Linked DNA regions of Homo sapiens: region 2 is linked to region 1. The links are contacts of gene promoters, found by promoter capture Hi-C in human tissues and cell types (Jung and others, 2019). All regions are on one chromosome and are shown on one strand. Each heading gives the region's core, a stretch centred on a gene start or on the middle of the fragment in contact. The rest is flanking DNA. Distances are from core to core; before and after follow the strand shown.

Region 1 (2,985 bases), core at 217-2,716:
AGGGTTACAGATGTAGTTTTTAAAGTTTTTGTAGAGTGGGGTCTTGCTGTGTTGCCCAGGCTGGTCTTAGACTCCTGGCCTCATGTGATCCTCCTCGGTCTCCCAAAGTGCTGTGATTACAGGTGTGAGCCATTGTGCCCAGCCCAATTTTTAATTAAAAAATGGAATGATGGAATGCACATTACTTTGCATCTTTTCCCCCTTAAAAATACATTCTTAGTATACCTAAAGGAGTAAATCTACCTCATTCTTTTGAAAAGTGGCCTAATATTCCATAGAATGGGTGTATCGTGATTTATTCAATTTATTTAATGTATCAGTGGGCATTCTGGCTGGTTCCAGATTTTTGCCATTGAACAATCTCATGCATACATCTTTATGATGTGGTGCACTTAAAATCTTTAAGAGACAGATTCAATATCTTAAGGTGTAACAACCACCCAGATCATGGTACTTTTATCCTTATATTAAAATTTTTTTCTGTTAACCTTGGATAGCTGCTTACATATTTTTTCTTTTTCAAAATTTTTCTATTAACCTTGACATGGTGCTTTTACTTCCTAAAGTGGAATTCCTGTATGAAAGCCTATGAGCTTTTATATCTTACTCATTGCAGCTGCATTACTGTGGGAGCTGTCCCTCTAGAGACACTGGGCTGCAATGGGAAGTGTCAGGGAGAGCTTAAGCTCCATATCACTTGAGTCTAAACCTGGAGGGATAGAGCGTGTCCGTGAGGATCCCAGGGCCTGGAGAGCAATTTAGGGTAATATTCAGAAAGCAGCGCTCAGGAGAAGCACTGGGACGCTGTTTAGGTAAAATCAACCCAAAAGACCCTGATTCCCAGAGTACTTTGAGGTCCAGAAGAACTGGGCTGGAAGCAGGTCCTGCTATTAATTGGCTGTGATCTTGGGCAAGTTATTTAACTTCTCCAGGTCACAGTTTGCTCTTTGGAAAACGGAGATAAGTCACACCTGCTTTCAGGGCGGACACCCTTACTTTACATCAGAATCATCCGATGCCATTCCTAGCGTTTCGGCTTCAGTAGGTGGGAATCAATTATTTGCATTTCTAATAGGTAATCAGTTGATAATGATGCGGCCGGTCCGGTACACTCGAAAAACCACTGTTCCAGGATATTCCAAGATGTTCCAAGAGTCTTAAACACCTGGTGCAGTTCCGAGCACAAGGCACACGAACGGTGCTATTAGCGTTTCTAACCCCGCAGAGAACTCCTCGCACCCCAGTCCTCAAAATCCCGCCCCGGACAGCGGAGGCCGGGGCAGTAGCTTCCAGACCCAATTGCCCGCGCAAGGGGGCGTGGCAGCATCGTTGGGCGGGGCCGCCTGTAAGAGAACGCGGCTAAAGGTGGGGCCAAGCGTGCGGTTTGCTGCGCCTGCGTGAGGAAAAAGAGGGGGGCGTGGCTCCAGGCCGGAAGAGGGAGTCTGTAGGGGCGGGCCGGCTGGCGTCCCCTTTCCGGCCGGTCCCCATGGAGGCGCTGGGGAAGCTGAAGCAGTTCGATGCCTACCCCAAGACTTTGGAGGACTTCCGGGTCAAGACCTGCGGGGGCGCCACCGGTAGGCCGCAGCGGGGCCGGGGTCGCGTGGAGGGGGGCGTCCTAGAGCTTAGCCCGGGCTCCTGGACTCTGACTGGCCTGCCGGTGTCTGAGGGAGCGGATTCGAGGCCATTCTGACCCTCGCCCCTTGTCCTGCAGTGACCATTGTCAGTGGCCTTCTCATGCTGCTACTGTTCCTGTCCGAGCTGCAGTATTACCTCACCACGGAGGTAAGGGGCGGGGCTTAGTGCGTGGGCGGGGCTTGGCATTCTAGGAGTAGGACCTTTAGGGGTGGGAGTGGGGAAGGAGAGGTTTGGGGCTAAGTCTTACTGAGGTAGCGCTGCCCCAGGTGCATCCTGAGCTCTACGTGGACAAGTCGCGGGGAGATAAACTGAAGATCAACATCGATGTACTTTTTCCGCACATGCCTTGTGCCTGTGAGTACCTCACCATGGGTGGGACTGGAGAGACCCAGGGTTCTCATGTGGGCTGCCAGATTCACACCTCCACCCTTAGGTTCTGGACTGGACCCCAGGACAACCTCCTTCTCCTCATCCCGTTCTGCCCCAAGACAGGCCCAGTATCCCCTTCCCCTCCAAAACCCACATCCCCTTGTCCCTAGGGTCCCAGTACCTTAGCCTGATTTTCCTGCTTCCAGATCTGAGTATTGATGCCATGGATGTGGCCGGAGAACAGCAGCTGGATGTGGAACACAACCTGTTCAAGCAACGACTAGATAAAGATGGCATCCCCGTGAGCTCAGAGGCTGAGCGGCATGGTAACCAGGGGAGGGGGCCGGGTCTCAGATCCCAAAGCTGGATGTACCCAAGCCTATCTGCTAGCAAGTGAACTGTGGCAGGCATAGTGATACATTAAACAACTAAGAGCTAGAGAAGTCAAGTGACTTGCCTAGGGTCCCCCAGCTAGTAAGAGTCAGAGTGAGCTAAAATCCTCTATACATATCGAGTCAGGTAATCTACCTGGCTATTATTCTCAGAGGTCCTCAATACCTGCAGATGGTAGTTTGAATACCAGAGGTTTGAAGATAGGTCTTATGTGCTCTTGCCTTGGTAGAACTGTCTAGATGGACCCAGGCTTCTTTGAGTGTTTGCTTTCCCAGCCCATTGGCTTAATTCAGCCCTTAATGCTCTTCCCCTTTGGAATGCAGGTGGTTTAATGAGAATTTAGGTTCTCAAGTCAGATTGCCTGGGTTCACATCTAGCTTTGTCTCCTGCAGTCTGTGAGCTTCAGCTAGAAAGTGGTAATAAAACAGTAGTACCAACCACATGGAATTGTAAGATCAAATGAAGTCATATGTGTAAAATGCCTGGTACAGAGTGGGTACCCACTTTTACCTTCCTTTCCTTTATCTTGGTGGCTTCCCAATTCCCTTCGTTAACTCAGTTTCCCACCACAGCAAACTGTCCTCAAAG
Region 2 (2,985 bases), core at 337-2,836, 280 kb before region 1:
TATTATCTCGTTTAATTTCCACATAGACTCAGCAAAGGGGTGGAGTTTCCTGGGAACTTTTTGAACTTATTAGCTTACTTCTTTTTTCTAAACTCTCATTATGGAAAATTTCAAACTCACAAAAGTAGGAAGAATGCTTCTATGATCTCCCAGATACCCACCACCTGCCTCAGCAATTATCAACGTTGTGGCATTCCTATTTATCTACCTTTTTTTGGCTGATGTATTTTAAAGAAAATCTCAGGCATTCTAACATTTCACCTTTAAATACTTTAGTATATACCTCTAACAGATAAAGGCTAATTTTTAACATAAGCACACAATCATTATCAAGCCCAACAAAATTAACAATAATTTTTTAAAATCTAATACCCAGTTCGAGTTCACTTTCCCAAAGTACCTTGGAAATGTCTTTTACAGTTGTTTGCTTGAATCAGGATCCAAACAAGATCCACACACACATGGCTGACATGTCTCTTAAAGCCCTTTTTATTTAAAACACCCCCGTCCTACACACACGTTTCCCTCCATATATTTGTTGAAGAAACTGGGTCAGGTGTCCCGAGTATAATCATTTGGCGTGACTAGAATCAAGTTTACTTTTAATACGTCTCTCTTGCCCATAATTCCTGAATGTTGTTCATTAGATTTACAGGCTGACTAGATTCAAGTTCAATTTTTTTGGCAAGAATACTTCCTAGGTGGTGCTGGTACTTCCTATTCACCATATTAGCAAATACATATGATGCAGACTGTCCCACTTTTAGTGATGTTGAGGTCGAGCATTTGCTTCAGGTTGTGTCAGCCTGACCCAACCATTATACAATTCACCTGGAGAACTTAAAAAAAAAAAACAACAAAAAAGATTGCCTACGTCCCAAACCAAACCTCCTGAATCAGAATATCTTCCCCACCTCCTCCATGTGTTTAAAAGGCTCCCCGGGCCAGGTGCGATGGGAGCACTGGAGTAATCCCAGCACTTTGGGAGGCCGAGGGGGGGCAGATCACCTGAGGTCAGGAGTTCGAGACCAGCCTGGCCAACATGGCAAAACCCCGTCTCTACTAAAAATACAAAAATTAGCCGGGTGTGGTGGCACATGCCTGTAATCCCAGCTACTCGGGAGGCTGAGGCAGGAGAATGGCTTGAACCCGGGAGGCGGAGGTTCAAGTGAGCCGAGATTGCACCACTACACTCCAACCTGGGTGACAGAGTGAGATCCTGTCTCAAAAATAAAAAAGAAAGAAAATACTTTTTAAAAAAATAGGAAATTCACCCCTTTGGAAAGTGGCAGAGCCAGGTGTGACCCCAGGACTCCGCATTTTTAAGTCACCACAGGTGGTTCTGCTGCAGGTGGTCCGAGTATTTCCCTTGGTAAAATACGGTGCTTTTGGCGCTGTTCCATTCCGGGGGCTGTCACCTGGTTCTTCAACACAAAGCTTGTCCTCAAGGAACCCACAGTCCTGGGGCAGCGAGCATGTGCACTAGTGGCAATCACGTGGGGAGGAAGCGGTCAGTGCCATAAAGGCAGTTCAGGGAAACTGCTGGGAGGGCACAGCAGAAGGAGCACTCACTGCCAGCTGGGAAGTCATGGAAGGCTTCCTGGAAGACAGGCATGGAGCTGAACTTTGAAGGAATCAGGTTATTCCAGGGGAAGGGGCAGCACTGGCAGAAGAACAGAGGCAAAGGGAAATGCTATCACCTTTCGTGGGGCTGGGGGAGTTAATGAGATGGGAACGACCAAATATGGAGATCCTAAAAGAAAGAAATGAGGCAGAGACAAGGTCCACTTGAGTAGCCGAGTAGACTGCTGGGGACTTGCTCGGAGGCCCAGGGACTTACAGGAACACACCCTATCAGGGGTGCTGGTGCTCACACACAGCTCAACAGGACCCTGCTAATGAAGGGTAATACTTCTGTACCAGGAGCTGGTATCAGCGCATTACACACCCTGCCCCATGAATCTTCACCCACATCCCTATGACGAAGGTGCCATTGTTCCTTCTATCTTCCAGAGGAAGAATTTAAAATGTCACACTGCTAGGACATGGCAGAGCTGGGATTCAAAACCAGGCAGTCTGGCTCCCAGAGACTGCATTCCTGACCACTCTGCTTCCCTGCCGCTCACCCTCTTGAAGAGTGAAGACCCTAGCAGCCTCCTGCCCATGGAGCATGGGGTCCTCATAGCAGGCCTCTCCTCCTCATACCTCTGCCTTCACCTCACAAGCTCAGGGAGTCCTCCTGCCCCTGCCCTGCTCCCTCTGTCTCCCCCTCAGGGCTCTCTTGGGTTTCTGTGCAGCAGGATACTGGCTCCCTCGCTCTTCCCTTCCTTTTGGTTCCTGGACCCAAACCACAGGCCTCTTTCCTTTAAGGGGTCACTCCTGTTCTCTGCAGACCCAGAACAGGGGTTAAAAGAGCAAGAGACAAGGCTGCGGACAAAGGTTTTGAGTCTCCCACAGTGCTCAGAGCCGTGTTCCCTGGTTCCCAGCTGAGCTCCCTGTGGACAGCCCCTGGGGAAGAGCCTGCTCAGGAGACAGAGGCCCTGAACAGCTTGTCCCAGGTCATAGAATAGCCCAGGAGCACAGCCAGGACTGGACCCCAGGAAGCAGAGCTGCCTTCCGCTGGCTCTACCAGTTTGTTTGGGATGGAGCTCAGCGATGAGCTCACCCTTCCCTGCTGCCAGAGGGGCCAGGACCTGAGTAAGGAGCTGGGGGCGGCCTGGCCCTCTCATGCCAGCAGAAGGCCAGCCCCAGGCTTTTGGCCAACCTTGCACTGATCTTGCCCATCCCCCTTCCTTTCCGTTGCTCAAAGGTGGCTTCACAGAAGACACTGGCGGTGTCAGTAGTGTGGGAGGCATGTACTGCCCGTGGCCTGGGTCTGCCCCATGGGGTTCTTCTCTCTTCCAGAGACCTAAGCCAGGAAGGCCAAACAATCCCCACCCCCATGTGTCCCTAGGCCAGTGACGCTGGGGCCAGAGTGGGCAGTAG

What was found. Contacts are between HindIII fragments. The study calls those that stand out against the background at their distance.
Region 2: a contact is called between a fragment that was not itself captured here and the fragment with the promoter of ERGIC3 in region 1, in 2 of the 25 tissues and cell types used here (IMR-90 fibroblasts and spleen).

The regions. Positions count from the first base shown.
Region 1 is chr20:35,540,612-35,543,596 of GRCh38, forward strand. ERGIC3 (ERGIC and golgi 3) reads left to right here and starts at 1,467. Exons shown (of 13, transcript NM_015966.3): 1 at 1,467-1,574; 2 at 1,712-1,782; 3 at 1,902-1,989; 4 at 2,211-2,330. The coding sequence starts at 1,487. RefSeq lists an enhancer at 1,139-1,228. The HindIII fragment of the contact is 35,337 bases long and covers 1-2,985 here.
Region 2 is chr20:35,257,955-35,260,939 of GRCh38, forward strand. The region is part of intron 2 of MMP24-AS1-EDEM2 (MMP24-AS1-EDEM2 readthrough); the gene reads right to left. The region is part of intron 4 of MMP24 (matrix metallopeptidase 24); the gene reads left to right. Among named protein-coding and RNA genes, the nearest start is that of MMP24-AS1-EDEM2, 19 kb to the right of the region's middle. The HindIII fragment of the contact is 5,720 bases long and covers 1-2,985 here.